7 separate regions of the Homo sapiens genome follow, and regions 2, 3, 4, 5, 6 and 7 are each linked to region 1. Evidence: promoter capture Hi-C in human tissues and cell types (Jung and others, 2019). All regions are on one chromosome and are shown on one strand. Each heading gives the region's core, a stretch centred on a gene start or on the middle of the fragment in contact. The rest is flanking DNA. Distances are from core to core; before and after follow the strand shown. Region 1 holds the start of CTCF (CCCTC-binding factor). Region 2 holds the start of DPEP3 (dipeptidase 3). Region 3 holds the start of LCAT (lecithin-cholesterol acyltransferase). Region 4 overlaps PSKH1 (protein serine kinase H1). Region 5 holds the start of EXOC3L1 (exocyst complex component 3 like 1). Region 6 overlaps DUS2 (dihydrouridine synthase 2). Region 7 overlaps NUTF2 (nuclear transport factor 2).

What was found. The method cuts DNA at HindIII sites, captures the fragments that hold promoters and counts their contacts. A contact is called where the count stands out against the background at its distance.
Region 2: a contact is called between the fragment with the promoter of DPEP3 here and the fragment with the promoter of CTCF in region 1, in 1 of the 25 tissues and cell types used here (adrenal gland).
Region 3: a contact is called between the fragment with the promoter of LCAT here and the fragment with the promoter of CTCF in region 1, in 1 of the 25 tissues and cell types used here (IMR-90 fibroblasts).
Region 4: a contact is called between a fragment that was not itself captured here and the fragment with the promoter of CTCF in region 1, in 1 of the 25 tissues and cell types used here (spleen).
Region 5: a contact is called between the fragment with the promoter of EXOC3L1 here and the fragment with the promoter of CTCF in region 1, in 1 of the 25 tissues and cell types used here (spleen).
Region 6: a contact is called between a fragment that was not itself captured here and the fragment with the promoter of CTCF in region 1, in 1 of the 25 tissues and cell types used here (bladder).
Region 7: a contact is called between a fragment that was not itself captured here and the fragment with the promoter of CTCF in region 1, in 1 of the 25 tissues and cell types used here (mesenchymal stem cells).

Annotation. Positions count from the first base shown.
Region 1 is chr16:67,560,644-67,564,034 of GRCh38, reverse strand. CTCF (CCCTC-binding factor) reads right to left here and starts at 1,509. Exons shown (of 12, transcript NM_006565.4): 1 at 1,311-1,509. It overlaps CTCF-DT (CTCF divergent transcript), which reads left to right and starts at 1,726. Exons shown (of 1, transcript NR_158165.1): 1 at 1,726-2,624. It overlaps LOC124903703 (a long non-coding RNA gene), which reads left to right and starts at 585. Exons shown (of 2, transcript XR_007065094.1): 1 at 585-740. RefSeq lists silencers at 438-537, 1,058-2,067 and enhancers at 291-1,153, 2,298-2,347, 2,368-2,417. The HindIII fragment of the contact is 9,573 bases long and covers 1-3,391 here.
Region 2 is chr16:67,979,179-67,982,449 of GRCh38, reverse strand. It overlaps DPEP3 (dipeptidase 3), which reads left to right and starts at 1,951. Exons shown (of 10, transcript NM_001370198.1): 1 at 1,951-2,356; 2 at 2,685-2,811. The coding sequence starts at 2,070. RefSeq lists an enhancer at 2,127-2,627. The HindIII fragment of the contact is 8,829 bases long and covers 1-3,271 here.
Region 3 is chr16:67,942,870-67,946,004 of GRCh38, reverse strand. It overlaps LCAT (lecithin-cholesterol acyltransferase), which reads left to right and starts at 1,885. Exons shown (of 6, transcript NM_000229.2): 1 at 1,885-2,057; 2 at 2,793-2,949; 3 at 3,029-3,135. The coding sequence starts at 1,904. It overlaps SLC12A4 (solute carrier family 12 member 4), which reads left to right. Exons shown (of 24, transcript NM_005072.5): 20 at 1-54; 21 at 134-241; 22 at 452-636; 23 at 785-918; 24 at 1,074-2,531. The coding sequence ends at 1,165. RefSeq lists an enhancer at 2,754-3,135. The HindIII fragment of the contact is 35,269 bases long and covers 1-3,135 here.
Region 4 is chr16:67,921,766-67,924,960 of GRCh38, reverse strand. The region is part of intron 2 of PSKH1 (protein serine kinase H1); the gene reads right to left. Among named protein-coding and RNA genes, the nearest start is that of CTRL, 8.5 kb to the left of the region's middle. The HindIII fragment of the contact is 5,571 bases long and covers 1-3,195 here.
Region 5 is chr16:67,188,373-67,191,611 of GRCh38, reverse strand. It overlaps EXOC3L1 (exocyst complex component 3 like 1), which reads left to right and starts at 1,476. Exons shown (of 14, transcript NM_178516.4): 1 at 1,476-1,641; 2 at 1,929-1,981; 3 at 2,432-2,592; 4 at 2,672-2,891. The coding sequence starts at 1,936. The HindIII fragment of the contact is 11,498 bases long and covers 1-2,523 here.
Region 6 is chr16:68,048,194-68,051,308 of GRCh38, reverse strand. DUS2 (dihydrouridine synthase 2) reads right to left here. Exons shown (of 17, transcript NM_017803.5): 4 at 1,759-1,804. Among named protein-coding and RNA genes, the nearest start is that of DUS2, 26 kb to the right of the region's middle. The HindIII fragment of the contact is 5,487 bases long and covers 1-3,115 here.
Region 7 is chr16:67,859,722-67,863,205 of GRCh38, reverse strand. The region is part of intron 1 of NUTF2 (nuclear transport factor 2); the gene reads right to left. Among named protein-coding and RNA genes, the nearest start is that of EDC4, 12 kb to the left of the region's middle. The HindIII fragment of the contact is 3,954 bases long and covers 1-3,484 here.

The DNA.
Region 1 (3,391 bases), core at 260-2,759:
GGAAGTCTCCTACTAAACAGTAGTTACATTAGGCGTAGATATTTATAAACCATCTGCAGCAAGTGACCCAGGATTCAATTACAACATCAACCCTCATATTTCATCGCATGGGCAAATTACCAGTCGAGTCAAGAATAAACTCATTCTGCCCTACTGGCGCTCTAGATCGAGTTGCACAATCCTGGGGCAGAACCGCCTTCACCTAGCCCTAGAGCATCAGGTACTAAGTTAGTGTGAGGACATTTTAAAGCGGGAGGGAAACTCAAGGGACTTAGCCCATACTCCCAAATTCAGAAATTTGTCACGTCACTTGAGATCAGAATGAAATTTAAGTTTCAGTCCCTTTGAGATCTCTGAGCGCACAAAGTCAGGCTGCTATCACTCGGCTGGGGAGTCCGAACCCGGCTGGATAAAAACTACTTGGTGCGGAACTCGCATCTTTTCCGCCCACCGTGGGGGGGCCGCACCGGTCGGGTCCGGCCAGGAACCCGGGCGCGAGTTTGGGGGCGCAGCGGGGGCGGCGAGCGCGCGTCCCCCCGCCCGCTCAGGCAGCGTAGAGGTGCGAGCAGCTCAGCCAGCCTTGCAGAGGGAGCTCTCGGCAGCTCTGGGGTCCCTCTGCTCGCAGCCGCTGCAGCGCCGCCTGCGCCACTCGGCGGAGACGGAGACCAGCGGCGGCGACGCGCGGACTGGGAGCGACCGCCGAGCAGCCAAGCAGCTGGGAAGGCACGCAGGCCGGCAGGGTAGGTTCCGGGGACGGGGCTGGCTGGAGGAGGGGCAGCCCGAGACGCGACGGCCAGGGCCCGACACCCATACGGCACCGGGACCTGGCTTAGCGCGCGGCGGCAGTCGGTCCGAACCCTTAAGCTAGGCGGGCGCCGAAGCCGGGACGCGGAGATAGTGTCTCAGCTGGGGCCACCCGCCGCGGGAGGGGCGGAGGACACAGGACAGAGGGCGGGCCGCGGCCGGGCGATCGGCCGGCCAAGAACCGGCCTCGAGGGCAGACAAAGGAAGGAAAATGGAGTCGCCGGGCGCGCGGGCCTCTGCCTCTGCCGCCGCCCGAGGCCTAGCGCGCTGCCAGGAGGGAGGCCTAGCGGGCGGGCGGGCGGGCGGGCGTGGGGGTGGGGGGGGCGGCCGGGCCACGGCGGCGACGGGCAATGGCGGCGGCCGCGCCGCAGCAGGGACGGTAGAGGGAGACAAACACCCCCCGGCGGCGGCGCTGGCGCCGGGCTGCAGCCAGCGCCGACCGGAGCGGCCCCATCGTGACACCTAGAGGCGGCCCGCGAAACCTCCTCCACCCCGGGCCCCCTTACCTCCGCGCCACACCCCCCGCGGCGCCCGCTCCGCCGCCGCTCCACGGCTCCGGCCACCCGGCGTCTCCGGCGAGCTCCGCGCGTCCGCACCGGCCACCGCCGCCGCCGCTGCCGCCAAAGAAGCAGCTCCGCGCACGGTTTAATCGCTCCACAGGCTCAGACACAAAATGGCGGCGGCGCGGTGCAGTGCGCCTGCGTCGGCGCTGCCGGGGCCGCGGGTGCTGATAAGGGAAGGGACGGGTGGGGGGACCGGCCGGGCGGCGAGTAGAGGGCGGGGGAGGAAAGGTGAGGGGAGGGGTTGGCGCAGGGCAGCATGGGAGGCGGCCCCGGGCGCCAACTTTCAAAAGCGGGCGCGATGGCGTCACGGGACGCGCCGCGAGTCGCGTCGTCACGCCGCACGCGCCCTCGCCGGGTCGCTCGTGGGCTCTGCCGGCGCCGCGGCGTCCTGGCTCCCGCTGGGTGGGGCTTCCTGGGCGGAGGCCGCCGCCCCTGGGCGGTGCCGGATCCAGTCCGCTTGACCTTATTCCCTAGCTGCTGTCTCCGGCCCCCTGAACCCGTACAGGGTTGGGGAAGTGGGGGTGGCTGGAGGAAGCGCGCGCGGGGCAAGCCAGTGGGGCTGAGGAGGCTCCCGGGCCCGGCCCCGCCCAGTCTCCGCCCCAGCCAGGCCCGACCCGCCCTCCGAATGTCTTACAGCTGCCCGCCCCAGAGTAAGGCCCGGTCGGTTCCCGCGCGCTCCCAGCTCCGTGCCCGCGAGCGACGACTGGAAGGGCTGTCCTTGCTCAGCGGCTTTTGGTGATCTCTCCGCCCTAGAAGAGGGCCACCTAAAAGCGGGTGCGAGAGGAGAGTGGGAGGGCCTCCTCTTGGTGTCCCCAGGCCACCTCAGCCCGGAGAGGTGGCGGAAAACCAGACTTGATGCTTTAACACGTTCATAGCAATCGCTTTTTACTGAAAGGAGTTTCTGTATTTAGCGCTGTGTAATTCTGTGGAAACGTGCATTTCTTGTCTTTGCGGGAGAGCTGTTCTCTGTGGGCGGAGACCTTCAGTCCCACCCCTCCCCAGGAGGCGCCTGCGGACCCTTCCCAACCTGCAGTCAAGTTGACCAAGAACTGACTGCAAGGTGCTGGTGGCTCTGGGATGAGAGCCTTTTGGTACTTACAGGGAATATGACTCTTCCCTTAGATATCAAATGGACCCAATATCTAGGGAGCAGCTTCTTCTCCATCCATCTGACCGTTCCGTTGTGAGAATGCTGGCCCAATAACATACTCTTTTTTTTTCCCCTAAAGGAATAAAAAAATCTGTATTTTTAAGATGTCAAATCTCCAGAGTTTTTAGATGTTAGCAACTGAATCAGATGTTTTTAAACTTCATGAGCTGATTAAACCACACAGATGAGCTGTCAGTTTACGACCCCTGGCTTGGCTTGGAGGAAAGAGTGAAGAGAAATTCCATGGCCAAATCCTGGGGCACTCCAATATTGGGAGGGTAATGGAGAAGGAGTCTGAAAGGCAGCATCTAGGAAGTCATGAAAGCTAGCGCTGAGTTGTGGAATCCCTGGGCAGAGAAGGTTTCAGGTAGGAGGCATCAGCTGAGCGGTGTGATAAACTTGGGCCAGAGATGTGGCTATTGGATTGGGTCACCTTGCAAGTCACTGGAGAATGTCACTGATGGCCTTGGCTTGATTCACGTGAGTATATCAGGGAGGTGGACCTGACCGGAATGGGTTAAACAGTCACCAGGAAAGTGAGGAAATGGAGACAGCACATGTATGCAATTTGAGAGAGGTTTTGCTGTGAAGGGACCAGATAAGTTTGGGGATAGATATAGAAAGAAATCTTTTAAAAGATAGTAGGGGCCGGGCGCAGTGGCTCACGCCTGTTATCCTAGCACTTTGGGAGGCCAAGGCAGGTGGATCACCTGAGGTCAGGAGTTCGAGACCAGCCTGGCCAATATGGTGAAACCCGGTCTCTACTAAAAATACAAAAATTAGTTGGGCATGGTATCGCGCGCCTGTAATCCAAGCTACTGGGGAGGCTGAGGCAGGAGAATTGCTTGAACCCGGGAGGCAGAGGTTGCAGAGA
Region 2 (3,271 bases), core at 702-3,201, 420 kb before region 1:
GCTAAGGCCCAGCGAGAAGTCGAGCACAGCAGCTGCTGGCCCAGGTGCTAAGCTCCTCACTGCCCGGGCCGGCTGGCCGCTCCGAGTGCGGGGCTTGCCAAGCCCACGCCCACCCGGAACTCGAGCTGGCCCGCAAGCGCAGCCTGCAGCCACGGTTCCCGCCCACGCCTCTCTCTCCACACCTACCCGCAAGCTGAGGGAGCCGGCTCCAGCCTTGTCCAGCCCAGAAAGGGGCTCCCACAGTGCAGCGACGGGCTGAAGGGCTCCTCAAACGCGGCCAGAGTGGGCGCCAAGGCCGAGGAGGTGCCGAGAGGGAGCGAGGGCTGTGAGGGCTGCCAGCACGCTGTCACCTCTCATTTTTGTGTCTGTATACTAACATATATATAGAAAAAAATATTCGGCCCGGTGCGGTGGCTCACGCCTGTAATCCCGGAACTTTGGGAGGCCAAGGTGGGCGGATCACGAGGTCAGGAGATCAAGACCATCCTGGCTAACACGGTGAAACCCGGTCTCTACTAAAAATACAAAAAATTAGCTGGGCATGGTGGTGGGCGCCTGTAGTCCCAGCTACTCGGGAGGCTGAGGCAGGAGACTGGCATGAACCCGGGAGGCGGAGCTTGCAGTGAGCAGAGATGGAGCCACTGCACTCCAGCCTGGGTGGCACAGTGAGACTCCGTCTCAAAAAAAAAACCACGTCTCTAAAAAAGAAATAAGGCCGGACGTGGTGGCTCATGCCTGTAATCCTAGCACTTTGGGAGACCTAGGTGGGCAGATCGCTTGAGCTCAGGAGTTCAAGACCAGTCTGGGCAACATGGTAAAACCCTGTCTCTAAAAAAAAATGCAAATATACAAAAATTAGCTGGGCATGGTGGTGCATGCCTGTAGTCCCTCCCAGCTACTTAGGGAGCTGAAGCAGGAGGATCACTTTTACCTGGGAGGTCGAGGCTACAGTGAGCTGAGATGGTGCCACTGCACTCCAGTGAGACCCTGTCTCAAAAAAAAATTTGTTTTAATAAAATAAAAAATAACAATTAGCCATGCATGGTGGCACTGCACCTATAGTCTCAGCTACTTGGGAGGTGGAGGAAGGAGGATCGCTTGAGCTCAGAAGTTCAAGGCTGCAGCAAGCTATGATCAAGGCTGCAGCAAGCTATGATCACCCCACTGCAACTCCAGCCTGGGTGACAGATACTCTGTCTCTTGGAGAAGGAAAAAAAGCTAAAATAATGATCCCCAACAAAAATTGTTCTTAAATTTCATTTTCGGGGCCGGGCACGGTGGCTCACGCCTGTAATCCCAGCACTTTGGGAGGTCGAGGCAGGAGGATCACTTGAGGTCAGGAGTTCAAGGCCAGCCTGGCCAACATGGTAAAACCCCATCTCTACTGAAAATACAAAAATTAGCTGGGCATGGTGGCGGGCACCTGTAATCCCAGCTACTCGGGAGGCTGAGGCAGGAAAATGGCTTGAACCCGGGACGTGGAGGTTGCAGTGAGCCGAGACTGCATCATTGCACTCCAGCCTGGGCAACAAGACCCAAACTCCGTCTCAAAACTGAAATGAGATGAAATGAAATAATGAAATGAAATGAAATGAAATGAAATGAAATGAAATACCTATAGGGAATCTTTCTGTCCATCAAACCAGACAGACCGAATTAACTCTTCTGAGTCGCAGCTTAGAATATTTGACCTGCCTAGGAGCTGGGCACAAGCCGGCAGCTAACCGCCACGTGGGCCTGGGTAGGAGGTGAGATCAGGAAGATCCCTGGGCCCCTACTAGTTCCCTGCCTGGCCTCCTCCCCCACTCGTGTGGGGGTCTACGGAGCCAGCGCTGGGGGTGGAAGGGCGAGGAGTCCTCGACGCTGCAGCGGCGGTTCCGGCCCATGGGGGCGCTCTCCTGCTTGGGGGCGGAAAAGCCGTGGCGCCCCCTTGCGTGGCGCGTCGGTCTCAGAGTCGCGTGACTTCAACCCCCTCTTCGGGAGGCTGGGTCGTCATGATCCGGACCCCATTGTCGGCCTCTGCCCATCGCCTGCTCCTCCCAGGCTCCCGCGGCCGACCCCCGCGCAACATGCAGCCCACGGGCCGCGAGGGTTCCCGCGCGCTCAGCCGGCGGTATCTGCGGCGTCTGCTGCTCCTGCTACTGCTGCTGCTGCTGCGGCAGCCCGTAACCCGCGCGGAGACCACGCCGGGCGCCCCCAGAGCCCTCTCCACGCTGGGCTCCCCCAGCCTCTTCACCACGCCGGGTGTCCCCAGCGCCCTCACTACCCCAGGCCTCACTACGCCAGGCACCCCCAAAACCCTGGACCTTCGGGGTCGCGCGCAGGCCCTGATGCGGAGTTTCCCACTCGTGGACGGGTATGTAGGTGCAGCGTTTGGGCAACGCGGGGTGAGCACACCCTTGGGCAGGAGAGGAGGTTCTGAGCATGCTATCAAGGAGGCTATCAAGGAGGCTCCCTCACACCACCCCTGGATGCCCTCTCTCCTCCATCACCCATGGGTGCCCTTCCCCGCATTACTCCATTCCTGGTGGAATCTAACCCCCTCCCTCCAACCCAACCTCAGGAGGTCTCTATATGGTCTGTGTGAGGAGGTGCCTGGTGGGGTGGAGGAGGGTAGACCCAAGCACCTGATATATCCTGACTGATCTGGAGGCGGTGTTTCCATCTGACCTTCACACCCCCAGCCACAATGACCTGCCCCAGGTCCTGAGACAGCGTTACAAGAATGTGCTTCAGGATGTTAACCTGCGAAATTTCAGCCATGGTCAGACCAGCCTGGACAGGCTTAGAGACGGCCTCGTGGGTGCCCAGGTACCACAGGGACACACAGGGTGCCACAGCATGGCTGCTGGGGGATGTTGGGGTCACAGAAACCTGGGTCAGCCAGCCTCTGGGTGACTAAATACAATGGGGCATGCAGTGTGCCATCATGTGGTTTCTAAGGAGAGTGGGGCCTTGGAGGCCAAGACAGGCTAGCTGCATGTATGCCCAGGTTCTGTGGAAACACGCAGAAAATGACCAGAAAATCCCTGGTGAGTGTGGGGTCTGCCGTAACCACAAAGGACATAGTGGATTGGCCTTGGGGCATTCACATAGCACATGGACTAACAGCAGTTTTTTGCTTGTTTGTTTGTTTGCATTTTTGAGACAGTGTCTCCTTCTGTCGCCCAGGCTGGAGTACAGTGGCACGATCTCGGTTCACTGCAACCTCCGCCTCCCGGGTTCAAGCAATTCTCCCTGCCTCAGCCTCCTGAGTAGCTGGGATTACAGG
Region 3 (3,135 bases), core at 636-3,135, 380 kb before region 1:
GCTGTCTTTCTGTACCATCTGCGCCTTGAGGCCGAGGTGGAGGTGGTGGAGATGGTGAGCCCTCTGCCCTGCCCTGGCCCCGTGGATACCATGTCCCGTGCAGCTGGGTCCTCACGGCCAACCCTGTCCCCAGCATAACAGTGACATCTCTGCATACACCTACGAGCGGACGCTGATGATGGAGCAGCGGTCGCAGATGCTGCGGCAGATGAGACTGACCAAGACTGAGCGGGAGCGAGAAGTCAGTGCCCTTTGTGGTTCACGCCAGGGCGGGTGGCAGGGTCAGGCCTTTGGAGACCGCATCGGTGGGTGCGGAGGAATCAGAATGACTCACCGCAGCCCTACCCAAGCTAGTGCTCATTTCCCGGAGGCAAGGTGGTCACATTGGGCCAGACAGGCCCCATCCCCCTTTTCCTATGGGACCAAGGCTATCTCCTGCAATTGTCCTCAGGCCCAGCTGGTCAAGGATCGGCACTCGGCCCTGCGGCTGGAGAGCCTGTACTCGGACGAGGAAGATGAGTCTGCAGTGGGGGCTGACAAGATCCAGATGACGTGGACCAGGGACAAGTACATGACTGAGACCTGGGACCCCAGCCATGCCCCTGACAATTTCCGGGAGCTGGTGCACATTAAGCCGTGAGTGCAGCAAAAACAGCCCCAGCGGCACTGGAATCTAGGGGTGGAGGTGGGGTGGGGCAGACAAGTAGTGTTAGATGGGCCAGGGGTGGGGACCCTCCTTGCAGGATGGCTCATGGCGACCTGTGACTGGCTACACTACGTGTAGGGACCAATCCAATGTGCGGCGCATGCACACTGCTGTGAAGCTCAATGAAGTCATTGTCACGCGCTCCCACGACGCCCGCCTGGTTCTCCTAAACATGCCTGGCCCACCCAGGAACAGTGAGGGCGACGAGAACTGTATCCCTTTGTGGAGAGGCAGGCAGTTGGGAGGTGGATAGCATGGGAGGTCAAGCCAGCGGCTTCTCTCCTGGGCACCCCTGGGTGGGCATGGCCCAGGTGGCCCGGGTTGCCCGTTGATTCTGTTGTTGCCTCCTTGACTTGAGGCCCTGCAGACATGGAGTTCCTCGAGGTGCTGACCGAGGGCCTTGAGCGGGTGCTGTTGGTGCGCGGTGGTGGCCGTGAAGTCATCACCATCTACTCCTGAGCCCAGTGTCATCTTGTGGCCTGGAGTCGAGGTCTTGGCCAGGACATAACAAGCTGTGGTCTGGGGTAACAGCCTCTTCCCAGCACCCACCTGCCAGCCCTGCTTGCCTGGCCCTGTCCTGGACCCAGCTTTGCTAGGTCTCCTTGGAAACCAGGCCTGGGCCTCAAAATGGAGATGGATCCCAGGTCTTGTGGGACCCTGGGATGTTTGGGGACTTTACTATCTAGCACCCCAGTAGGCCTGTCCTGGCCAGAGAAGACTGGTAGGGGCCGAGTGGGGTTTGAAGGCAGCCGGCCCGGCCCAGCCCAGGAGCGCTATTTATTGCATATTTATTGTTTGGATGTCACCATCAGAGACGAAGGGAAGGGTAGCCAGGGAGGGAGTCCAGCCCAGCTGCCTGCAGGAAGATCTGGCTCAGTCTACTATGGGCAGGGCCCCCCACCAAGCTGAGCCGAATGGAGACAGCTGAGCTGAGGCCTGACTTTTTCAATAAAACATTGTGTAGTTCTGGGCCTCCTGCTGCCCCGGCTCTGTTTCCCCTGGCGCCAAGAGAAGAAGGCGGAACTGAACCCAGGCCCAGAGCCGGCTCCCTGAGGCTGTGCCCCTTTCCGGCAATCTCTGGCCACAACCCCCACTGGCCAGGCCGTCCCTCCCACTGGCCCTAGGGCCCCTCCCACTCCCACACCAGATAAGGACAGCCCAGTGCCGCTTTCTCTGGCAGTAGGCACCAGGGCTGGAATGGGGCCGCCCGGCTCCCCATGGCAGTGGGTGACGCTGCTGCTGGGGCTGCTGCTCCCTCCTGCCGCCCCCTTCTGGCTCCTCAATGTGCTCTTCCCCCCGCACACCACGCCCAAGGCTGAGCTCAGTAACCACACACGGCCCGTCATCCTCGGTAAGCCCCCACCAGGCCCCTGATGCACCACGCCAGACCCTGGGGAGCCTGGGCCCCAGCCCCTGGCAGCTGACCTGGCCAAAGCCCTTCTGCCCTGCATAAGCCCCGACATAAGTACCTGCCCTGGTGTGGGGAGGGGCCAAAAGCTTGTCCCTTAGAGGAATGACGTCCCTTCTCCCACCACACTGTGACTCTCAGTTGTCTAACCCAGGGGGGGCGGAGTGGGGGACGGGGTGTGCCTGAGGTCTTGGCTGGGGCATCACAAGCTGTGGTCAGTCACAGCCACACCAGACTCTGGGCCAAGCCCCACCACTCCTTCCTTGGCCCCCACCCACCAAGGACAAGATGCCCAGCCCAGGATCGGTGAGCAGGAGAGGCCCATCCATGCCCGGCCCCTATTAGGCCCAGCCCCCATGCCCCCAGACCTATCTGTTCCCACCTTGGACTTTGGCAATAAAGGAGCGCCAGACTGGGTGTTTGCTCTGCAGAGGCAGGGGTCAGCGGCCTTGGCCTCAGCACCTCAGCGCCTTCCCTTCCTCAGGGAAGCCTGGGCTTTGGCTACTGGGGGGACAGCAGGGAGAGGGGGTGTAAGCAGGGGAGGGTAAGTGTGCTTTGTACCTGGGGGTTGAGGGTATGGGAGGTGGGGGGTGGGTCTGGTCACTGCAGCATCTGGGGTGACGGGGGTAAGGGTCACGGGGGGAATCCAGAGTCCAGAGTGAGGGCTGCTGCTCACAGTGCCCGGCTGCCTGGGGAATCAGCTAGAAGCCAAGCTGGACAAACCAGATGTGGTGAACTGGATGTGCTACCGCAAGACAGAGGACTTCTTCACCATCTGGCTGGATCTCAACATGTTCCTACCCCTTGGGGTAGACTGCTGGATCGATAACACCAGGTACAGCCATGTGCTCCACCCTAGCCCCAACACGCTGCCCCTTGGCTACTGGCTGCTGAGTGGCACCCCCGCCCCGCAGGGTTGTCTACAACCGGAGCTCTGGGCTCGTGTCCAACGCCCCTGGTGTCCAGATCCGCGTCCCTGGCTTTGGCAAGACCTACTCTGTGGAGTACCTGGACAGCAGCA
Region 4 (3,195 bases), core at 1-2,500, 360 kb before region 1:
TTTTAAAAAAGAAAGCTCCATGGTTGCCTCCTGAACACAAGGAACCACTACTGGGGGCAGCCAGTCCAGACCACAGACATTCACTGTAGCCCCCATCACCCACCGGAGAGACAGAAAGAAGCTTGATGGAGACAGCACACACACAGCTGAACAGAGTGGGTCAGGGGACACCTCTGCTGCCTGCTGGCCTTCTACAGTCTCCAGGAAGAGGAGGACTCACTAGGAAGCAGGCTGCAGCTCAGTCTGGCCTGTTGCTGGAACAGCCCCAAGACAGGGCTGACAGCCCAGGGTGTCCCAACAGGGCTGGGAAATGGATTCTGCCCCTGCCCCTTGGTCCAGCCAAGACAAAAGAGGGGCAACTCCCCTACAGAGGCCAGGAGCCTGAACATGGATGGACTGGAGGTTTCACCACTTCACATCCACACCCAGCGAAACCGTGGACCTGAAACTCCAAACCAGTCACCAGTGCAGTCTTGGAGGGGCCTCTCCCCAGACCAGCCCTATGGTCTTAAGTGTCTCCATCTTCAGAGTGGCACAGGCTCACACCAGCAGGCATCAACCCCTGCTGCTCATGGAGCGGCCGGCCTGTTAGTGCCAAAGCGAGCCAGATTGATCCCTCTCCCCGCTGCTCCCCAAGATTCTCGCCTCACCAATTACTGTGGGCATGTGGCTGTGCGCAGAATGCAGATGGACTCATTTGTCTGAGGGCTGGCCTGGCCTCTCTGGCAGGTCCCAGCTCTTCCCATCTTTGAAGAGCTGTGAGCAGCTAGGCCAGGTGGGTCCCCCAAGCCAAAGTGACTCAAGTCGTCCTGAACTGGTCCCCAGCCTAACCCTTGTACACAGAGGAAAGTCAGGCTGAACACAAGAAGGTGGTCCTCATCCAGCTGACAGTGAGGCAGGGGCTTAGGGTGACCTTCAGAATAGCAGCCTCTGGAAGCCCTGCTGAGGCCTCCCACAGGGCTTAGAAAAGTAAGGCTTTCCACACTCGCCCACAGCCAGGCTTCAGGCCTCACATCAACTCAGCACCTCCTAAGAAAGCACTCAACGCCAGCAGCCCAACCCACCTGCTTCCCCTGGAGCCACGTAAGTATGTGTGTCAGCCAAGGGCTGACTGGCTGGGAAGCATTCTAAGCAGGAGAAAAGGGAAAATGATGAATAGTCATGCTCTTCAGTCTCCACAACTCTGTTTGTTCTAGGTGAAGAACTGAACTCGTGCCTCAGTATACTTATTTGAGCCATACCAGGGACACACATGGCCTCAGTTGGCTGACAGATGGCACAGGTGCCAAGACCCACCTGGGCAGTCTCTGAGGCTTCCACCTGCTTCTGGGCCGACGTGGAGCACGAGGCACAGAGGGAAACACTAAGATGTCAGCTGGCTCTACGCCCAGACTCTCAGGTCTTCCCTTGCTCTGGGATCAGAGAACAGCTTCCATACCCAGGGTGACAGCCTCCACTCTCTCCTTTCCACAGTCTCTGGGCAAGTCAGTGGCTCACACCTCTAATCCCAGCACTTCGAGACACTGCTGCGTGAGTGAGGGCTGGGTCCTGCTTCAAGAGGAAGACAAGCAGGGGCTGTAGGAGGAGGGCATCACCTCTGCTCTGATTCTGACCATCAAGCTGGCTGCCTTCCTCCTGAGTCCATGGCCCTCAAAAGAGTCCTTTTCCCCTTGCAGTTAGGGTACCTGCTCCTGATGTTGGAACAGCAAAGATGCCAATAATGGGTATGGGAAGCGACCTCTTCCGTGAGCACCTCCTTACCAACTAGCCTTCCTCATCCCCCTACCCATGCTGGGCCAAAGCCACTCCTAGGCAGTGGAGTCCTACTCCCCCTGGAGAGGGAGAGGCAGCACAGCAGGAAGGGCTTTCCGCTCCCGCCTGAGGACCCCCCGCACCAACCCTTTTCGTTTGCTCTAGCTCTAATGTCTGGCACAAGGGCCTGGCATGAACACTACCCAAGCCACTGCCAGCGGTCTCACCTGGAGCCTAAGGGCTAATGAAACAAAGAACAGCGCCAGCTCTCTAGCAGAGGCTGCAGACAGAGGAGGAAGCTGCTTCTTTCTGGCAGCAAACACAGCTTACAGGGCGGCCCTAGACTTCCTCTGGCAGGCAGGGCTGCCTACTGGCAAGTGAGGCTGGGAGAGAAAGGCCCCTTGGTGTGTCTTCTGAGTGGCATCTGGGATACGTTAAAGGGTTAGATTGCAAGCCCAGCAACCTGAGTTCTAGTTCTACCTTCTCTGTCGGCCTTAGAGAAATCACACCGCCTTCACTTTTAACACGAGGAAGGGGCTGAATGTCATGAACTCTAAGTCCCTTCCAGTTTATAAACTCCTGGATTCCTTTTTCTCCACCTTTTCCTTCACGTGGCCACATGTGAAGCGCAGAGTTTAGCATTTAAGCTGACCTCTTGAGCCCTGGGTTCCTTATCTAACCAATGATGATTCTGGGGCAGGCTGGCTGACAGAGGAGGTGGCCCCACCACAGTGCTTCTAGAGAAGGGATGGGAAGGGAGGAAGAAGCCTGGGCTTTGCTACCATGACTCAGTTCTTCCCTCAGCTCTATTTCAAGATGTATTTTCAGACCCACTATTCCCACCTTCAAAGGCCTCCTTTCTGTACTTACGTGGGCCTGAATGAGAGCAGAGAAAAGGGCACAGAGGAAATTCTGGAAACAGAGCTTTGAGTTTACTCAGGAAAGCAGCATGACAACAAGAACGGCACCCTGTCATGCTGCCCACGACGAAGAGCATCAGCAGAATTAGACACTGTGTGGCAGCAGAGCCAGCATCCCCTCCTGTGGTCAAAAACCCATCATCCTGGTGCCTGGGCTTCCAGACCAGACAGAATCTACCACCCTGGGACTCGGCAGAGGGCGGGTGAGGGGCAAGCAACAGAAAAGGGAAGGGTGTGGGGGGAGAGAGCCTGAGGAGAGAAATAGAGGGAAGATAATGCAGTTTTAAAAACAAGTAGAGAATTAAAAAAAAAAAAGCAGAGAATAAAGATTAAAATGAGAAAAGGTGTGACAACTTAAAGGTTAGTAAAGCTGTGTTCTGAAACTTGAAATGGATAACAAAATGAAATCGTGTGCCCCCACCTGTCCCTGCCCAGAGCCAGAGTGGAGGGGAAGGAGAGGAGAGAGACAGGACACAACTCAAGATCGAGAAGGATGCTATTTGCTCGCTTTGCAATAGGCCTG
Region 5 (3,239 bases), core at 227-2,726, 370 kb after region 1:
TCATCTTTCGCTCGTCTTGTCCTCACAGTACAGTGCTCAGAGACTATGGGGTTATGAACACTTCAGCCAATGCAAACGTGTTTACCTATGTGTAAATATCAGTAAAGCACTCAGTCATTCCTGGCATGCAGGAATGTGTGATACGGTCATTTTGTAACTTTTAACATTGTTACTATTTATTATTGTTTCTTTTAGATCAGGTCCTCTGGGAAATGGGACTCGAGATAGGGTTTTGCAGCAAGTTTGTTGGGGATCCACACTTTTTTTTTTTGAGACAGGGTCTCACTCTGTTGCCCAGGCCGGAGTGCAGTGGCAAGATCAATGCCGTCTCAGCTTCCTGGGCCCAAGCGATTCTCCCACCTCAGCCTCCCAAGTAGCTGGGACCACAGGCATGCACCACCATGCCCGGCTCATTTATTTTTAGTTTTTTAGAGATGTGGGTCTCACTATATTGCCCAGGCTAGTCTTGAACTCGTGGGCTCAAGAGATCCTCCCACCTCAGCCTCCCAGAATGCTGGGATGACCGGTGTGAGCCACCGCACCTGGTCAGGATCCACACCTTTAAGGGATTAAGACAAGCAGAATTGAGCAGATGCAATTATATTATAGGCCTCAGCCTATCCCACTAGGATCTCTGAAATTGGGGTAGCACTTCTGAAGGGTTCATGTTCACACGATGGTACCATGCTTTTGCACCCCAATATTGACTGAGAGACTCAGTGGTGTGATCTCAGTAGCCTACACTCCTGGCAGCTGGAGAATGAGCACTTCTGTCCTGAAGGGTGGATTTGGGTGGTGGACTGAACATCCACTAAATAATTACCACCTTATAGTCCCTTCCCTGGCTCCCTATAACTCTCAAGATAAACACAGCTGCCCAGTTGCGGTGACTCACGCCTGTAATCTCCCAACACTTTGGGAGGCTGAGGCAGGCAGATCGCTTGAGCCCAGAAGGCTGCAGTGAGCTATGGTGGTGCCACTGTACTCCAGCCTTGGTGACAGATCAAGACCCTGTCTAAAACAAAAAAGATAAACACAGCTTTCATGACCCTCTCCTACCACCCCCCACCACACCCCTCTTCACAAGAGCCTGCCACCTCTCACTCCTCCGCAGAGGTACACATCCTCCTCAGAGGCTGGCCAACACAGTTTTCATCCTGTGCTGTTGATGTCGTCTGCATCCATATCTGCACACTCTGCCCACCACCCCAGGTTGAGGCCAAGTCTAGCAAATCCCTATCTCCTCTCCTGAGCACTAAGAGGTTCTGGGTAGGCTGGTCAAGACTGGTTGAGTACAAGTACACCCCACCCCCCCGCCCCTCAGGGAAGTGTCGCCCAGCTGTCCCCACCCTCTGTGCAGACACTCTTTCCTGTTGGGAATAAAATGCCAGAGACTCAGCTTCCTTCCTTTCTGTTGATGGCCTTGGGGAGGGAGGAGCCTCGGTGGGAAGAAGGGGCTTCTGGGTGGGGAGTGGGAGAGAGACTTCCTTGGGGAGAGGAATTCAGCTGCACGCTGGAGTCAGCTGGAGTTGCCCAGGCCCTGTGAGCAAGTGGCAGGCGTGCCCAGCTGCATTGGGGAGAGGGCTGTTCTCAAGGCCAAGGTCATTTTTGGAGGGAGAACTGGACGCCTGATCAAATCTGGTAAGTTCTGTACCAAACTGTCCTGTGCAGCTCAGAGCAGGACCAGGGTCCAGTGGAGGCCTGTGCCCACTCTGTCTCGCTTGACATCTGCAGGGGCACGACTGGGAAACCTAGCAGGCAAAGCCTCCCAGGTGCCCTCCGCATCACACCCGCTCCCTCTCACTTCCCGAGGGGGCCGGGAAGAACCTCCTTCCTCCTCTCAGAAGGGCTTAGACAGAGGCAGCAGCTCACAGGGGCATCTACTCTGCCTGCTTGCCCCGGGCCCACCTCAGCTCTGGCTCCTCCAGGCCCACAATGGACTCAGCAGCCAAGGATGAGATGCAGCCGGCGTTGTCCCCTGGTATGAACCTTTTGGGTGGACTAGGGGAGGAATGATGGCAACAAAGATGGGACTGGCTGGGCGCAGTGGCTCACGCCTGTAATCCCAACACTTTGGGAGGTCAAGATGGGCAGATGACCTGAGGTCAGGAGCTCCAAACCAACCTGGCCAACATAGTGAAACCCCGTCTCTACTAAAAATACAAAAACTAGCTGGGCGTGATGGCACGCGCCTGTAATCCCAGCTCCTCGGGAGACTGAGGCAGGAGAATCGCTTGAACCCGGGAGGCGGAGGTTACAGGGACCCGAGATTGCACCACTGCACTCCAGCCTGGGCAACAGAGCGAGACTCCATCTCAATAAACAAATAAACAAACAAATAAATAAATAAATAAATAAATAAGAAAGCTGGGACTGGGGTCGTTGGGCCCTCCTCCCTGACTACACGGCTGCCCAGGCTCTTCCTTCCCAGGACCTGAGTGGCCAGAGCAGGAGCGGGCAGAGCAGCTGGCCCGGGGTGCAGCGCTCAAGTGGGCCTCAGGCATCTTCTACCGGCCGGAGCAGCTGGCCAGGCTAGGCCAGTACCGCAGCCGCGAGGTGCAGCGTACCTGCTCCCTGGAATCGCGCCTCAAGGTGGGCATGGGGCAGGGGGTGCGGGTGCTGGGACTGTGCTGCAGGGCTGGCCCAGCCTCATGGCTCCATCTTTCCACAGTCAGTGATGCAGTCATACCTGGAAGGCGTGCAGACTGGTGTGTGGCAGCTGGCCCAGGCCATTGAGGTGGTGCAGGGAACCCGGGAGGCCCTGAGCCAGGCCCGTGGGTTGCTCCAGGGCATGTCCCAGGCCTTACAGACTCTAGAGCCCCTACGGGAGCGGGTTGCCCAGCACAAGCAACTGCAGGCCCTGTCTCACCTGCTGCCTCGGCTGCGGGCAGGTGAGCATGCAGGGACCCTGGGCCTCAGCCTCCAATAGTCAGTCCACAAACACCCATCCCTAATCAAGGGGCTGGGGCACTAGATGGGGAACTGCATAGAGCAGCACACCAGGGACCTCCCAGACAGTAGCCCGGGCTTCCCATGGCCTATGAGGCAGCTCATCCTGGGATTCCCACGTGTGGGATGCTTGAGTCAGGACAGACACCCAGTCATGTGACTCTGGCCACCTGGTTATCAGTATATTCAAACTCTTCCCTAACAGAGTGGCTGAGCGAGTACTGGCAGGACCCCCCGATTTCCCCTGCCTTCCCTCCAGGATCCTCAGCTTCCTCATATTCCATGAGTTC
Region 6 (3,115 bases), core at 171-2,670, 490 kb before region 1:
TTTGTTTACCCCAGGGTCAATGGTTCAGTATCCGCTCATTTGATGTTTAAAGCAACTTTATAGAAACAACAACGGTGCATAATGAGAAGCAACTGTATTTTATCTGTCAGCTTCCTAAAGAAGCTCCACAATAGGTGCTACCATTACTAGCTTTCAAAGATCACTATACATGAAAAAGACTGAACGTGGCAGATGGGAGAATATGCCTACCTCAAAGGCTGTCTTGAGAAATAAATGAGATCTTTGATGCACTTAAAGTATTTCCATACATGGATGGTTTTATTATCATCCAGCACTAAACAGATGAGAAGGTTTTTAGGGTGGGATAAAGGCAATGACATGTTGAGAGAGGTAATCAAAGTGATCACTGACAGAGACAGCTCATGACTGGCAGTAAGAAGTATGAGAGAAGAACCACAAAATATTTGTGTGTTTATAATGCAACTCTGTTTATAACAGCAAAATACTGGGAACCCCTGTTAAGGCTCTGGTAAAATCAATTCTGACATAGTTGCCCCTAGGTACTGACATGGGCAAATGACCTAGTAGATAAGTAAATGGCAAAACAACACGTGTTGTATGATCAAATGGGGTGGGGAGATAGATAAATATAGATATAGATATAGATACAGATATAGATATAGATACATTTTTTTTCCTTATCTTCAACCTAGAAGAGGGATATATATAAACACGTCATATTTTGTACACACACATTATTTACTATATGTATAGAAAAACATACATTATTCCTCTCTCTGATTACCTCTTTAGGTGTAGGATTATGGAGGATTTTCATTTTCTAGGTTACACAGATCTATAATATTGAATTTTTTATCACACAGAAAAAAATATACACATTTAAAATAGTTCGGCCAGGCATGGTGGCTCACACCTGTAATTCCAGCACTTTGGGAGGCCAAGGCAGGCGGATCACGAGGTCAAGAGTTCAAGACCAGACTGGCCGCCATGGTGAAACCCCTTCTCTACTAAAAATACAAAAATTAGCCGGGTGTGGTGGCGGGCACCTGTAGTCCCAGCTACTCGGGAGGCTGAGGCAGGAGAACTGCTTGAACCTGGGAGGCAGAGGTTGCAGTGAACCAAGACCGCGCCGTTGCACTCAAGCCTAGGCAACAGAGGGAGATTCCGTCTCAAAAAAAAAAAGATTTCACAAGCATATACGTATGTATCAGAAAACTCAAGGAATATACCACAACTCTAATCAAAGCAGAATCAGCCTCATCAATAAAGTATCAGCAAAACTACAATTCATCACAATCACATTTGCACAGAGCATAGGGCGTCCACAGTACTTACATGTACCTTATCTTATTTGGTCCTCACTCCAACCCTATGATTGAAGTAAAGCAAAGACTATGATTTCATTTTACAGATAAAGGAACTAAGGCAGACAGAGGTCATATGGCCTGCCCAAGGTCACACATCTAGCAAGTGGCCAAGCCAGGGCCAATGCTAAAGCCATCCTGACTCCAAGGCTCCTAGAGTCCCTCCTATGCTATGATGCATGGTGATTTCTATGCCAGCAAGCCTGTGAGTGAAAGGCACTCTCAGCCTGTTTCACATCAGGCTTTTTGTCATGGCCTCTGGAGATCAGTGACTGCTCTCAAGGGAGCATGTGATCTATAGAATTACTCAATGAAGCCAGGCAAGACACTGTCACCCCAGGCAAGGGCAGTGGTAGTGCTGCTTGAGCCCAGCAGGGCATATGCATAATTCTGGAGCCAGATCTGTACTCACCATTAACAACTCTCTTGCACTGAATCATCTTGAGGTCGATCAGCTCCTGCAGAGGAATCAGAGGACGCTTGTCATTCCTGAACATGTAGGCTCTGGGCATGAAGGATTTTCATCACACACCTAATGAGGATCGCTTGGCCAGTCGCCCTACTACCAAGAACAAACCACGGCTTTTGGGACATGTAGTGCTATTCTCCCCACCCAAGCATGGCAAGCAGGAGCCAGAGTGAGCTACTCTCAATTAGCTGTCCTTCCCAGGAAACTTGGAGATGGTTGGGGCCTAGAATGAATGAACCACTTAGCCAGAAAGACAATAATCATTCAGGATGTATTCACTTGGAAAATTTCCTCACCTACTGGTCTCAGCAGAAGCCCACCCCATCAAAGAATATCCCACCTATCCCTCAGCAAAGGGCAGGCAGTGAAGGGCTCCCAAGAAACATCCAAAAACAAAACTGGAACCAGAGAATAGAAGCAAAGGGAGGAAGATCTGAGATGAACACAGGAAAGAAAAGTCTAAAACCCCTATCCCACATGGGTCACACTATGTGGAAATGAAAAGGGCGAGGTCCCCAACTCTGGAGATACTCAAACAGACTAAGGAAAGAAAGAAAAAGGGGGGTTCTTCAAAATCACATCATAAATGGAAGAAAACCTCCTATGTGCTGGAGGACTGAGATTCTCTAATTCTTAGTTGGAGACAAGACTGTTCTGCTTTGTTCAGCAGACACCTGTCACACTGCCCAGAAGTTCATGCCCATGGATTCTGGGGGTCCAGAAAAGAAAAGAAGAGGTGCTTACTCCTGGTACTAACCCCCATACTGACTCCCTATGAGCCCCAGCAAGTCACAACCCCAGCCAAGTGGGCACAATGACCTCCTACTCACTCATCGGAGTACCTAGGGACAATGGCCAAAGAATCCTCATAGTATCCATGGGACTTCCCGCAGCATACCCACCATCAGATTAACAAATGCTCTAGGTGTTTCTGTGGCCATTCTCTCCATGCAGTATTCAGGTCATCAAATATCTGATGACCACTAGGCCTGAACAAACAAATCACCACAACTAAGCAGTTTGGACATGGTTGACATCCAACCCCCAAGAATCAGTGTGGCATCCCAAGGGATGGGCAGAGCCCAACTCAGAGCCCCAGTAGCCAGTGATCCTAGTTGCAGGGGAAGGCAAGTAGACAAGTAGGAAGCACTGAATGGCCTGTGCTTATAAAAAGAAATTCAGTAGCCAAACTGAGCTTTGGTAGGGACTAGAACAGGAAAAAGTAAGACACGTACCACATCAAAGATTGGGAAGTTCATTGTTTCCAAGTATTTACGGAAATCTCCATCCAAATATTAGC
Region 7 (3,484 bases), core at 510-3,009, 300 kb before region 1:
TCAACAAGTGGGGAAAGCACAGGACCATCATCTAGTCTTCACTGTGGTCTTGGTCACATTTCCAAGAGGTCAGACACTGGCTGTACTCACACACAAACTTAGAGGACCTAAGGCAGAGCACAGCTCCCACCTCTGGCATTTCTGCCCCGTCCACCTGGTACTTGCTATGCTTAGTCACTCAATGTGCCCTGACCCTGCTGCAGCTTCCAAGGTGCCATACCCACTGCCTAAGAGCTCTGAGGGTAGGGGAAAAGCTGGAGGAATGGATAAGGGCCACATCTCCTTCTACCCTTGGCTCAGAGCAAAGTTGGGCAGTCCTCAGAAAGGGTATGCCAACCAGAAGAAACAGCACCAGCAAATGTCCCGGGGCATGAAAAGGGTCTCGCTCTGTCCCCCAGGTCAGGGTACAGTGATGCCATCTCATCTCCCTGTAGCCTTGACCTCCAGGACTCAAGCAATCCTCCCACTTCAACCTCCCAAGGAGCTGAGACTCCAGGCAAGCACCACCACGTCTGGCTGCTTTTTGTGTTTTCTGTAGAGACCAGGCTTCACCATATTGCTCAGGCTGGTCTCAAACTCCTGAGCTCAAGTGATCCACCCAGCTTGGCCTCCCAAAGTGCTGGGATTACAGGCGTGCACCACCATAACTGGCCTGTGATAACTTTCTGATACAAAAACTCCTTGACTGAAGTGGTGGTGGAAGGAAATGGGGTGGAGGGATAAAGGAAGAGAAAGACCCTTTGGCCTGGTAGGGCAGAGAAGAGTGGGGAAGAGTAAGCTCTCTGAGGAATAGGACACATCAGGGGCTCCCAGAAAATGACAAGGAACCTTCAAAACTATGTGGGATTGAGGCCTGCTTCACTGTCTTGTGTTTATTTCCAAGTAGTGATCACAACAGCCACATAGTCAGAATCCACTGTCATCCAGTGATGTCGCTGGGTCTTGCCCTAAGCTCACCTGGTACATCAGTGCTGACACTGGGTCCTCTGGTCAAGGCCCGTCTCTTTTTTCTGCTAACTCTGCATCCCTGAGCTCTAAACCACAAAGCTGACCATGCTCCTCCCCTACAAACACCCTTGCTTTTGGCTTAAAGGCCAAACTCCCTAAGCTCCACAGGTGGCCATCCACCCTCATCCCCATCTCCCTAAGCCATTCCCTCCTACCTCGATCCAGCTACATACAGACACAACAGAACCTACCGAGAGCCTGCTCACCATGTTTTGTACACAGGAAAGTCCCCTCCTGCGATCCCCACCCTTCCCACGGGAGGCAACACTCTTGAGTCCAAAAAAAGAAGCAAGAGTGCAGAGCCCCCATCCTATCCCCATGCAACATGAGGGAGGGGTCCAGGCCAGGCTGGAAGATGTTCCCCAGAATAGCCAGCAAGCTCTGATCTTGTTTCTAACACATTTACTGTGCAAGTAACAGGCTGGAAACAAAAAAGCCCGGGCTCAGAGGCAGCCTCACATTAGACTGGGGACTGACCATCATGACAGCTTCTCCTACAGCTCTTGTGAGAGGGCCGCTGACCACACCATCTCCTGCTTCACCCCAACAGTCCGCAGGCTGAGGCCAGGCTCCTTGAGGAGCAGAAAAGACTCTGATGACCTCTCACCCACTGAACACCAGCCTTCACTGACCCTTAGGTCTCTGTGAGTGCAAAGACCCTCCAAGAATGTCTCAGCAACTGTGGCCCTCTCCCAACACATTTGCACAGAGGTAGAGATGCCCCAGCCTTGTGAATAATTTTCAACTGTTCAGCCATAGATCCCAGGTTAAAACCTCTGACCCAGGAGATCCCGTTAGACAACAGAAAAACTCCATTTTTATCTTCCAATTTTAAGTGTTTCCAAGAACAAAACTCAAAATAACTGTCTGGCTGTGAACACTTCATTTTCACTAATGCATATGAGGCACAGAAATGTGCAAAGAGCTTATGTGCACTTGTTTGTAACCACACCCTGTGAGTCAACCCCCTTGTTAGAGATGACCAAAAGGAGATTCAGCGAGGTTAGCCAACTCCAACTCGCTCTAGGTCAGCAGCTGATAGGTGGTGGAATTGGACTGACCAGATTTGGAGGCCTCTCCAGAGTCAGGACTTCTAGTGACAACGTGGGCCTGGAGACAAGAACAGACTACATCAGTGAGAGCACTCCTCTGAGCCTGGCTCTCTCAGAAAGGGGCAAGGCAGTCCTGAACCAGGGCTTCCACCTCCAAACAAAGGCCTCAGGCAGAAGAGTTCCACATCAAACCTAGAGTCCAAACAACAGGAGTTTTCATGGAGGATGATGTCAGCTTTCTCAAACCTTCGAGGTCACAACCCTGTTCTACCATCTCAGCAAAGCAGACAGAGCAGACAGAGATCCTAGCCTGAGGCAGGAGAGTGATCGAGAAGACGCTATCACTCCTTCCAGACTGGCACACAGAAAGATTCTCATGTGTCTGCTGAAGCCCACAGGGAATGCCAGCAGATTTGCATGGCCTACAGTGAGGGCCCCAAAATTGGTACCAGTCGTGGCTATCCTCCACACATGCTATCACGGAGGCCAAAAACACAGCCTTGAGGCACAGCCTGGAAAGGACTCCTCCAACAGGGAAACTGATAGCCAACATGGCTTAAACCCCTCAGGCCCAAGGCTGGGCATAGTAGCTCACATCTGTAATCTCAGCACTTTGGGAGGCCCACGCAGGAGGATCACTTGAGTCCAGGAGTTCCAGACCAGCCTCAGCAACAAAGCCCCATATCTACAAAAAATTTTAAAAATTAGCCGGGCATGGTGGTTCACTCCTTTAGTCTCAGCTACTCAGGAGGCTGAGGTGGGAAGATCACCTGAGCCTGGGAGGTCCAGGCTACAGTGAGCTGTGAACTTACCACTGCAATCCACCCTGAGTGACAGGGCAAGACTCTGCCTCAGAACAAACAAAAAGGCTGGGCATGATGGCTCACACCTGTAATTCCAGCACTTTGGGAGGCCAAGGTGGGCGGATCACAGGGTCAGGAGATCAAGACCATCCTGGCTAACATGGTGAAACCCCGTCTCTACTAAAAATACAAAAAATTAGCTGGGCGTGGTGGCAGACACCTGTAGTCCCAGCTACTTGGGAGGCTGAGGCAGCAGAATGGCGTGAACCCAGGAGGCGGAGCTTGCAGTGAGTGGAGATTGCACCACTGCACTCCAGCCTGGGCAACACAGCCAGACTCCATCTCAAAAAAAAAGAAAAAAAAAAATAATAAAATATCTGGCCATGGTGGTGTACACCTGTAATCCCAGCTACCCGGGAGGCTGAGGCAGAATTGCTTGAACCCGAGAGGTGGAGGCTGCAGTGAGCTAAGAACGACCCACGGCATTCTAGCCTGGGTGACAGAGTGAGGCTCCATCTCCAAAAAAAAAAAAAAAAAAAAAAAAAAAGGCCTGGCGCAGTGGCTCACGCCTGTAATTTCAACATTTTGGGAGGCCAAGGCGGGTGGATCACCTGAGGTCAG